2 separate regions of the Homo sapiens genome follow, and region 1 is linked to region 2. Evidence: promoter capture Hi-C in human tissues and cell types (Jung and others, 2019). All regions are on one chromosome and are shown on one strand. Each heading gives the region's core, a stretch centred on a gene start or on the middle of the fragment in contact. The rest is flanking DNA. Distances are from core to core; before and after follow the strand shown.

Region 1 (5,898 bases), core at 95-2,594, 400 kb after region 2:
GCATAAGTCAATGATAAAGTTTGTTCCAATACACATTATTTCTCCCTTTCAGAATGAGTGGCCTTGGCAGATGTGAAACCTCTCTGAGCAGGTAATGTCCCTAAAGGGGGCACGCAGAGAGACTGTGCAGGGTCACATTGTGATGGAGATGTGGGTAAAGAAACTCACAGACACCATTGCCTTTTCCATCATTTAGGATGTCTTTACTGCTTTCTTCATTTCACCATCCAGAAATACCGAATTATAAAGGATGTGATTCTTTCTGACTACCCAAGACATCCAAAATTCAATCTTTTTTTTTTTTTTTTTTTTTTTTTTTTTGAGACGCAGTCTCGCCCTGTCGCCCAGGCTGGAGTGCAGTGGCGCGATCTCGGCTCACTGCAAGCTCCGCCTCCCGGGTTCACACCATTCTCCTGCCTCAGCCTACCAAGGAGCTGGGACTAGAGGCGCCCGCCACCACGCCTGGCTAATTTTTTTGTGTTTTTAGTAGAGACGGGGTTTCACCGTGTTAGCCAGGATGGTCTCGATCTCCTGACCTCGTGATCAGCCCACCTCGGTCTCCCAAAGTGCTGGGATTACAGGAGTGAGCCACCGCGCCCGGCCCCAAAATTCAATCTTATGCAAACTTCAGTTGAGGATGTTTCCCCTGATTCTTTCGCAGCTTCCACATCCCAGTAGTTCTCCGTTTTTAACTTATCAGCTGTTCTCTATGGATGTCATGCCTTGAGATGTTATCTTCCAAACACACAGCATACACAACTAACTCATTGTTTCTCTTTTTAGAAAATTAAGCAAATATGTATATAACTGCATATGCGGGCGTCTGGTCAACCAGAGGCAACAAACGTGACCTCACAAGTTTGTGTAAACTCAGTCAAAAGCAAGGGAGCGCAATACGGTAGTCCTTTTATGGGTTAATATGATCTCACCCTCCCCCCACCACAGTAGTGATCTTTCTGTTCCTCAAAAGGGAAGGGCCCTGGGCTGGGAACCCCTTCAGTTATCCCTTCTGAATGGTACAAATCTCCTTCATCCCATCCCTCTGATGGTCCCAGTTGGTTGTGGTTGGCCATGAAAGAAGGTAAATGGCTCAAGATCACTGCACCTCATTCCCCACCTGAAAAAAGACATTTCATATTTACATTTTGCTGGCGATGGGAGCCCTGAGTCAAAACCTGTACGTAGAAAACAGCCCAGGAGACGGGTTGCCTGGTCACTGGCGCTGCAGCACACCGAGTTCCCTGCTCTGGGTCAGGTTGTTAAGACCGCATGAGGATGCGCTGCTGTAAAAGTGCCTGCTTTTTCCAATTTAGGTTCACCAGAGTGCATAAATCCACTGACAGCTCTCTTCAAACAGTTGTTCTCAACTTTAAATAAAATTTTGAAATAACACCTGGTTTGCCTTTTTAAAATTTCAATTTTAAAAGAGACAGGGCAGCAGGAGGGTATAGATTAGGGGGCTATGGAAGGCATTCTACTATGGGGGGAAGAGCACACATCTTTCAGAGTTTGACTTTGAACCTTGACTTCACTAAACATTTGGCTATATGACCTTGGGAAGGTTATTTTTAAGCTTTGATTCCCTTCTCTGGGAGCAGGAATAAGACTCCTTTGGAGTCTTGTGGACATTTATGAATAATAACTTCAGCACAGCATAGGGCTGGGTGTGGGGTCAGGGCTGAGTAAAGGTGAGCTTGCCCATCTCCTCTCCATCTCTTTTTGTGTCACACTGTATCGGCGCCTTCTGTTTCTGCAGTTAAGGGCAGTGCTGGATGTCGTGGTGATGCTGACCCTGAGGAAGTGACAGCCCACTTTCTCAGGGGAAGTGGTGGCATAGACACAGGCAATCATATGTCATTCATAGAAGCAAGTCCCCAGCCACTGTGGACCACCGACATCTGAGGAAGGTGGGAAGAGGCTCAGAGGTAGGAGCTACCACCCCAACTCAGGCGTTACTCACCGAGCTACATGGCAGTCTCAGGGTGGGGACAAAGGTCAGGGGGCCCACCATCCCGAGAGGTTCCTTCCTTGGTGAGCTGACAGGCCAGCTTCTCCCTGAAGTTTCTTACAACTGAAGTTTCAGTTCTGGCAAACAGACTACGGACCTAAGTCCTAGGCCCAGCAACTGCCTTCCCAGGCAGGTCCCATTCCATTTTTGAGATCACTGCTCCTTCTCAGCTTTCTCGCCCGCCTCCCTGGAGAGAGAAGGTTCAGCACCGGATGCACAGCCGCTGCGGCCCCTGCTCTGTGAGGACTCTTGAGCCTCTAGCGGGGAATGACCCATGCTACTTGTTAAAAGGCGGGCTCGGCCCCTCCGGGCTCCTCCTGGCCAAGGAGCCTGCGTAGCTGCAGGATGTAAAGCCAAAGGCCATCAGAAGGATGTGTGGAAAACACTGCGGTTAGGAATGAGCAGACATTCCTAATGGAGCACGGACCTCAGGCTGATTGTGATCTGAGACAAAACAGTGCCAAGTGCTGCTAAATCATTAGAACACTTGTGGATAACAGCAAGAGAAATAAAGACACACAGACTCTCTCACAGGAAGGCTCTGTGGTATGGAGAGGAGCTTTGGCGACAGAGGGCAGAGGCCCCTTTCTGGTTGTCTTGGGACAAGTCATTTAGTGATGGTGGAGCTAGGGCTCGTGGTGGCAGGCTTGCTGTCTCCCCATATCAAGGTCTTGCTGTGTGCCAAGCACTGTCAGGTTCCTCGTAGACGTCATGTCCCAATAGCCCTATGAGGCAGGCACTGTGATTATAGCAATTTGATTTTAATTTTTTTTAGGTTATCTGGTGAGGTTGCAGATCTCTCTGGATGAAGAATCTCAGACTCAGAGGTGAAATGATATGCAGGCAGAACCAGTCTCACTGTTCTCTGTCTTAATGTCTCTCAGCCTTCATTTATCATCTGCAAAATGGGAATAAAAAATACAATCTCATAGAGTTAGAGAAATAATGAATAATTCACAAGTCTGTGGTATATAATATGTGTTTGGGCCAGGCGTAGTGGCTTGCGCCTATAAACCCAGCACTTTGGGAGGCCGAGGCAGGCGCATCACTTGAGGTCAGGAGTTTGAGACCAGCCTGGCCAACATGGTGAAACCCCATCTCTACTAAAAATAGAAAAATGAGCCAGACATGGTGGTGCATGCCTGTAATCCCAGCTACTCAGGAGACTGAGGCGTGAGAATCACTTGAACCTGGAAGGTGGTGGTTGCATTGAGCCAATATCATGCTACTGCCTTCCAGCCTGGGCATCAGAGCAAGACCCTGTCTCAAAAAAAAGAAATAAAAGTTGTTAGATGTGGGTTATTTAATGTTGCATATTGCCTTCCAATTTTAAAAAAAATTGCCAGGCTGAGCACAGTGGCTCATGCCTATAATCCCAACACTTTGGGAGGCCAAAGCGGACAGATCGCTTGAGCTCAGAAGCTCCAGACCAGCCTGGGCAACATGACGAAACCCCCATTATATGGTTAGGCTTTGTGTCCCCCCACAATCTCATCTTGAATTGTAATCCCCACCTGTCAAGGGAGAGACCAGATGGAGGTAATTGAATCACAGGGGCCATTTCCCCATGCTGTTCTTATGGTAGCGAGTGAGTTCCCGTGAGACCTGATGGTTTTTTTTTTTATGTTAATAATGGAGTTTAATATTTTGTTTCTGTGCAATCTTATGAAATACAACTTGTTTTATAAGAATTTTCAACAAAGTATTAGTTTCCTTTTGCAAAAAGTTATTAGTTTGCCATTTAGTAGCTTTTAAGTATGTTGAATTTTTTTACATAATTAAGAACCTCAATATTCTTGTTATCAAAAACATTTAGTGAGTACCTCCATGTGCAAAACAACTGGGCTAAAGAGTCATAGGACAGAGCCCTACTGTCAAGGATCTTTGAGTCTGTCTTGAGAGATACTTTATTCTTTCATCTCTTCCTTTGCTGTGGTTCACATCTGATGTCACAAAAACCAGTGGGGGTTGGGAGTACGCCAAAGAACAAGAATACTGAGACATTTTGCTGCAATATTTTGTGCATCCCTAAAGGCCATTTCTAAATAACAACAATGGTGATGACAACAAAATTACACCTGTCATTTATCAGGAACATACAATGTCAAAGCACTGTGCTGAATGATCATTTATCTTTAAATGATCAGATGCTTTCAATGATCATCCAGTTCTTCCACCTACTCTCTGAGGTTTCTATTCTTATTTTTGCCATTTTATACATGGAGTCTGAGCTTAGAGAGATTAAGAAACTTCTATTATTTTAATAGTTAGCAGAGTTCGGATTTAAACTCAATCCTGTTAGACTTCAAAGCCATATTTGTAACCATTTTACTATGCCGATTTGTTCTGTCTGGCCTACAAATAAGAATGTATTTGTTTGTTTAATACTTATTTGTTGGATATCTACTATGTGATAAAAAAACAACGCATATATAACCACAGGCAAGGTTCCAATTAAGAAATAAATCTTAGGAGGGGCCTGTGGTGAAATACAATGTGACCAAATCTTTATATATCTTTTCAAGTGTATAAACTGCAGATGGTTACAGACATAAATATTGGTAACTTCATATACCAGTTTCAGTTAGCCAAGTCTGTTGAAGAATTTCACCAAATTATTATTATTATTATTATTATTATTTATTTTATTTTATTTTTGAGACAGAGTCTTGCTCTTGTCACCCAGGCTGGAGTGCAATGGCACGATCTTGGTTCACTGCAACCTCTGCCTCCTGGGTTCAAATGATTCTCCTGCCTCAGCCTCCCAAGTAGCTGGGATTACAGGCACCTGATGGTGGTTTTATAAGTGTTTGGTAGTTCCTCCTGCATTCATTCCCTCTCCTGCCGCCTTGTAAAGAAGGTGCCTTGCTTCCCCTTCACCGTCCACCACGATTGTAAGTTTCCTGAAGTCTTCCTAGCCGTGCTCAACTGTGAGTCGATTAAACCTCTTTCCACCCAGTCTCAGGCAGTTCTTCTTTTTTTTCTTTTTTTTTTTTTTTTTTTTAATATACTTTAAGCTCTGGGATACATGTGCAGAACGTGCAGGTTTTATTAATAGGTATACATGTGCTATGGTGGTTTGCTGCACCCATCAACCCATCATCTACATTAGGTATTTGTCCTAATGCTCTCCCTCCCCTTGCTCCCCACCCCTTGACAGGCCCTGGTGTGTGATGTTCCCCTCCCTGTGTCCATGTGTTCTCATTGTTCAACTCCCCCTTACGAGTGAGAGCATGTGGTGTTTGGTTTTCTGTTCCTGTGTTAGTTTGCTGAGAATGATGGTTTCCAGCTTCATCCATGTCCCTGCAAAGGACATGAACTAATCCTTTTTTATGGCTGCATAGTATTCCATGGTGTATATGTGTCCAGCAGTTCTTTATAGCAGTGTGAAAATGGACTAATACACCCCCTCTCTACAAAAGATACAAAAAAAACAGTGGGGGAATGGTGGCACTCTCCTGTAGTCCCAACTACATAGGAAGCTGAAGCAGGAAGATTGCTTGAGTCTGGGAGATTGGGGTTGCAGTGAGCCAAGATGGCACCACTGCACTCCAGCCTGGGCAATAGAGTGAGGCCCCATCTCAAACAAACAAAAAAAAAGGGCCCAACAAAAACAAATGCCAAATGAAGCACCAGATGGTACAAGTAGCAGCTGCTGTAAGCAAGATGAGGGGATAGGCTGAGCATGGCTTACGTGTGAAAAGGACACTGGTTCTTTCAACCACACCAGCATATGCAGAGAGTGGGCCCTATCCTAATATCATTTTGTTGTACAAAGAGTGGTAACATCTTTTGGACAAATCCTGAAAAAAAAAACTTGGCTTCAGTAGATAGATATACCACATGCTGATTAACCTATCTCACTCTGTAACTCCAATAAGATTTTATGG
Region 2 (6,007 bases), core at 2,205-4,704:
CACTACAAAAAAGATATTTCCATGTCCTAATCCCCAAAACCTGTGAATCTTACTTTATTGGGAAAAGGGGTCTTTGCACACGCAATTAAAGATTTCGAGATTAGGAAATCATCCTGGATTATCCTCGTGTACCCTAAATGCAATTACAAGTGTGCTTATAAGACAGAGACAGAGACCTGGAGTAATGAGGCCACAAGCTAGCATTACAGGATCTCTGGGGTGTTGATTTTTCTGGCTGGAAAACTCTGTGGCTGCAGTGCCTTTGCCAGAGTTTTTGTCCCGCATTGAGGTACACAGACAAGTGAAGAGTGAAGAAGAGTTTTAGTGTTAGAACAGCTCGGAGGAGTGGGTAGCTTCTCTCTGTAGGCAGGTCATCCGGTCAAGTGTTCAGCTGTCAGTAGAGAGGAGGCCCTAGGCAGCGTAGCTCCTCTCCATAGGCAAGTCATTCAGAGATCTCTGCAGGTCTCTGAAGCTCTCAGCAGAGAGCGTAGCTCCTGTCTGTCGGCAGTCGAGAGGGTACTCCTTCCTTTCTGCAGCTAGTTGCCCCATCATCTCCAGCTATCAGCAGAGAGCATACTCCTCTACAGCGGGGGGTTCCCTTGTCTCTCCCTGCCCTCTTCATTCTCTGGCTGCTGTCCTCTTCCCTGCTCTGGCTGAGCCCAGGGTTTTTATGGACTTCAGAGGGAAGGAAGTGCATGCTGATTGGTCCATGGGTGGCCATGCGCAGGCTGGAGGAGGCAGCATGAGTCCCCACTCAGATTCCTGACTGGCAGCCTGGTCCCCAGACTTCAGGCCCTCCCTGGTCAGAGGGTGGGGCCTTACTGGGGACCCCAGCCCCTTCCACCCAGGACTCTGTCTGCCTCCTGCTGCCATTCACAGCCCTGGGGCTTGGTCCCAACCCCACTCTGAGATCAGAGCCAGTGGAGAGAGGCCAGGCAGTGGGAGCAGATACCCTTTAGCCTGCAGGGATGTGGGTGGGGTATTGCCTGGCAGTGGGATCAGATACCCCTGAGCCTGCAGGGATGGATGGGTGAAGGGTGTCCTTCCTGGGGAGTCCAAGGGTGCAGGCTGCAGAGATGCCCAGGTCCTGTGCCTGGGAGGGCAGCTGCAGCTGCACCAGGGAGCTCTTGCCCCACCAACTTGGAAGAGGCAAAGCTCCCACTTGTCCCTGGCTCCTGCCTGCTTCATGGAGTGAAAGGCCCAGGTCTGCAGCCGTGGGTTCCACAGGGAGGCTCAGAGGCACAGGGAGGCTCAGACCCACAGCCGCAGTTTGGGTGGCTGTAGCCTCGCCCAGGACTGCAGGGCTCCTGCTTGCTCCATAGAGCAGGAGGCCTGGGTCTGTAGCTGCAGTTTGGGCGGCTGTAGCGGCACAGGGAGCTCCCATCCCAACTCAGAAGGGGCAGCTCCCACGGGCTCCATGGAGTGTTGCAGCCCCAGCTGTGCTTCCCTGCTGCAGCCAGCATGATGGCAGCAGCCACTGCCATCACTAGCAGTGCCGATGGCTACCTGAAGCTGGAAGACGTAAGGACCACTTCTCCCCTAGGGCCTGTAGAGGGAGTGCAGACTTGTCCAGACCTTGATTTCAGGCTCTCGACCTTCAGAGCTGTGAGCAAATACATTTTTGTTGTTTGAATCCACCAGTCTGTGGGAACACATAGCAGCCACAGGAAACTAATACAACACCTGAGAGCCCCATCTGTAGTAATTATTCAATAACAGTTAGTCATCAGTCACCATCAACCTCATCCTATTTCGGACCAAACCTGGGCAGTGGGGACACATCAAGCCTACCATTTGGAGGGTGACTCTCCCAGCAGTGGGGAATGAAGTGGCACAGAGTAGCCATTAGAGGCCCAAGCCTGGAGGTAAAGGGGCGAATTCACCTGGGGGAAAAAGAGCTTTGGAGGCAGAATCAAAGAGACCTGGTGATCAAACTGCAGTCTCAAGGAAGCTGCCTTCCCTTCTAAATTGAGCAGCTAGGACCCTCTTAACTGAACTCTCAAAGTCTGGAAGGTTTGAGGAGGACAAGGAGTGTGATTTTGCACATGTCAAGTTGGAGGCCCTGCTGTGACACCCACATGGAACTGTCTGGTAGACAGTTAGATATTCTGGTCTGAAAAAGTAGGAAGAAAGTCCAAGTCAGAGATAAAGGTTAGAGAGTTGTTGGCACCTTTATGCAGCACTTGAAGCCCTGTGCAGGATATGGTCACAAAGAGAAGGTAAGCCTAGAAGGATCAATCCTGGGGGACTCCAACAGTTCCCAGACAAGAAGGGGATGAAATGGGGAGACAGTGGGAAAACAGGGTGGTTAGAAAGGGAAGAGAAGCATCCAAAGGGGTGCTGTCGGGATGCTAGGAGGGGATCCTCCCTCCTCTGTCTCTCCTGTTTGCCTTCCCATCATATAGAAACTGAGTGTATTAGATATTTTCTGCACTAATTAAGTATTTTCATTTTCCATTCTTAATTTACAACGGAATGAATTGGAATGAAAATATGCATTTCATTCACTCTTTTGGGAGCACAATTCTAGGGAATTTGTACTTGAACAATCCTTCACTGCTCCATAGCCACTGTGGAATCACAGTTACCCAACTATACAGCAGCAATGGCCAATTATTGCCACAAGAGACTATGATGGAGCTGACTACACGGTAATCATGCCACTAGCGTCACAGCTAGAGTGGTTCTCCCTCCACAGACCCAAAAGGCTGAACTGGTGAACCTGCTGCATCTGTGGGCAGAATTAGGATGAAAAGCACTACCTCTGTGAAATACAAAATCTCTGTGGAAGAAAAATCAATTCAGGTTAGAGGCGGCAGCTGAAGGCCATGGCTCCCAGCCTGGTGCGACAGCCCAGGGAGGGCGTCTGCCTCTGCAGACACAGCTGGGACTCCATTCAGCAGCCAACCCTTCCCCCACTTTCCTTGCTGTTTCCAAGATCCTATATGGGGATCGGGACTCAGGCAGGACCTGTTCTCTTCAGAGCTTCCAGGACTTCTCTTTCTTCTTTGCCTTTGGCCCTGTTTTCCTTGGAAAATCACCAGTTCTTCCTTTTTTCCTGTCCCCTCTTAGCCAGGCACTTCCTCGAGTGTTTAAAAACCCTGCGCGTTTTAGGGAGCGGGGATTTGGCAAAGGTTATGCGAAGGACTGAAAAGGGGCAGCGTCATGAAGGCCCTGTCATTCTCCCTGACTCCCCGTCTTTTCCTCAGTTGAGCATACTCCTAAGAGCGATGCCACACCCTTAAATACTAAGGCCCCTTTTTCTCAACAGGACCCTTTCCCCGGGAAAGACCCCAGCCCCGCCCCGCAGACCGGCAGAGTCTGCTGTCTTACTTGGCTGGAGGTTGTGGTGGCAGAGAGAGGGATCCGGAGCCCTGGGCCCAGGCTGTTCCATTCTGCCCCAGGAGGCGGCCGCGGGGCCCTGGCTCCAGCTATCTCAGCGCTTGCGGGAGCCGCGGGCTGCTTTGTGACGCGTCGCCATGGAGACAAGGATCGGGTTCCAGGGAGTTCTGCCCCTGCCAAGGGGTGCTGGCCACGCAGGAGGCTTAACCTGGCCGGCGCGGGAATGGGGTGCAGAGAGCAAAGAAATGTGGCTTTGATCTTATGGATGCCTTACTTTTACATTATTTGTACAGTTCTTGCAGTGAGCTTTCCGGACCACTGTCTTGTATGTTTCCTAAGAAAAGCAAAAAGGGAAGAGATTGAAGAGAAAGTAGATTTTCAACTACAAACTTTCATCCATTTGCTTTCAGCTTAAGCAAATGTGCGCAAAGTTGTCATGGATTTTTGCAGTCAATAAAAACCAAGCAAGAAGACTGAATCCCAAGTCATCTGGTATAAATGGAAGCAGTTTCTGTGATAGTTCCACGCGGTCAGAAGGGTCATCCTGGCTTAGGAGAGGGGCAGAAGAGGAAATGCACGCGTGGAAACAGGAGTGGGCAGGGAGGATGTGACACTGTCCTCCTCACCAGGCCACGTTCCTGGCACCAACCATAGTGTTTGTGAGGGTCAATTTAATTGTTCTTGTGCTCTCATAGAGGAAGCTGTGTCTTTCATCCCCTTGTAAGAGTTTTCACTGATGAAGGGGGTCTTTTATCTTCATATCTTGGGAACTACTGAAACTGTTTCAAAGAGTCAAAGACACCAATAACTAACAGAAATTCTTGTTTTCAGGGGCAGATAAGAAAAGAAACAATTTGCTGAAACTCCCTCTGCTTATAACAAAACTGACTGAAATCAGCCGGAATCAATATGGCCAAATGCAGTTTGCGCACAGCAAGCTTGCTGATGTCACAGCCTGAATTTCTACTGCATGTTTCATACCAACTCCCTCCAAATTTGCACATGGGACCCACCAGGAAGCATGAAGAGAGAGCCATGCATGCCTGAAGACTTCCCAGATGTTCCCTTTGCTTCCACCAATCACCTGCTAACCCCAGGATCCAACCCTAAACCTTTTGTAATAAAATTACTGCCCTAAAGCCAGTACAAGACAGATTTGAACTGGACTTTTGTTTCCTCAGAAGTTAACTTGCAATGTGAAGCTTTCCTTTTCTCAAAAACTTGGTGTCATAGTGTTGGCTTCTAGTGCAGTGAGCCCCTTTTGCTGGATAACCTTACCTGGTAATTTGACATACTAGGTGGTTAGTAACTACTGACTGTCTCCAGGTTACAACACAGTTATTACCCACTTGGGTGAAAAGAGAAGACAGGAAATACATTTTGGAGTTGGCTGGCAACCTGTTTACAAAGCAATTTACAACAGTTCCTTATTCTTAAGGGGCTATTCTAATACAAGACCTCAGAGAAACAGTGCAGTGTGACAAAGGAGGAATTTATCAAAGGAGACAGAAAAAGCATCAAGGTAAGGATCCCAAATATATGTGCAAGGAATGTCTTTAAAATGAAGAGCTAAACTAGAATTTCCTGAAGGTAGAGTTCTATCCATATAATGGAATGAATATAACACATTATAAACTCTCATGTTTTGAAGCAATGGAGGGTGGAACACATTAGAAGGCATAGATGTTATTAAAAGGAATGAGTCTAAATTAGGATTTAGTAGTGGCATCTAAATTTAAAAAGTAGCACCCAATAACAGATTACTGTCTGGAAATGGTAGAGCTAATTAGCATAGCATAATTTAAGAGAAATATATGTTTAAAATAGAGCAGCAAGTATATAGAATTTTGAAAGTGAATTCTTATTAATATCTTACAATTTGTCTCATTTTAGGCAAGCTGTGAAATGGTGCGGTAGGAACCAAATAGAGAGCCAAAGGATCTTTCTGTCACTGCAGGCCCTTAGGGGTAAGCAAATCCTTCCCTGATCCCTGGTCTCCTTATCTGTAAATGAGAATACCAGCACCCACCTCACTGTGCTGTAAACATGATGAGTTCTAACAATAATTTATAAATTGTAAAATCACACAAATCTAAGATATTGCTCTTGTTGCTATTCTGATCTTCATTCCTTTTATAGTCTTTCTACTTCAAAGTGTATTTTTGCGTGGGTCCATTTTATGGCTAGCGGTATAGCACTATTCCTGCCTTTGAATTCTGGTTGCCTGAGGCAACCCTTCTAAATGATTAAGTAGAGTATTTCCCCCCTGCTTTCTTCTCTCCCTCAACAAATACTGACTGTGCACTGAATATGAGCTGTATGATGGCATCGGGGCAACACCCTGATTATTATAGTGAACAACTTCCTAGAAAAGGAGGTGCCTGAGCTGGGTCCTCAAGGATGCTTGGAGTCAACCAGGTGAATAGGGGGAGGTGACAGGTGACACAAAGTAACGCAAGGGCCCAGAGGCATGGAACACTGTGTGTAGTCCCAAGACCTTTAGTAGTTTAATATTGCCATATTGTAAAGTGTGTCAGGGGAAACTGAGAGCCGGCTGGGGTGGAAGGCCCTGCAGGCCATCCTGAGAAGCTTGGACTTCACCTGAGCATGCTTGGGTTAAACAATGCAGTGCAGGGGCCAGGTTGGAAGTTTAAGTAAATCCTGG

The links. The method cuts DNA at HindIII sites, captures the fragments that hold promoters and counts their contacts. A contact is called where the count stands out against the background at its distance.
Region 1: a contact is called between a fragment that was not itself captured here and the fragment with the promoter of TEX26 in region 2, in 1 of the 25 tissues and cell types used here (dorsolateral prefrontal cortex).

Annotation. Positions count from the first base shown.
Region 1 is chr13:30,523,452-30,529,349 of GRCh38, reverse strand. It overlaps a transcript of HMGB1 not described here. Among named protein-coding and RNA genes, the nearest start is that of HMGB1, 60 kb to the right of the region's middle. The HindIII fragment of the contact is 4,826 bases long and covers 1-3,757 here.
Region 2 is chr13:30,930,103-30,936,109 of GRCh38, reverse strand. TEX26 (testis expressed 26) reads right to left here and starts at 3,454. Exons shown (of 7, transcript NM_152325.3): 1 at 3,334-3,454. The coding sequence starts at 3,394. It overlaps TEX26-AS1 (TEX26 antisense RNA 1), which reads left to right and starts at 3,502. Exons shown (of 4, transcript NR_038287.1): 1 at 3,502-4,864; 2 at 5,236-5,309. The HindIII fragment of the contact is 5,735 bases long and covers 1-5,238 here.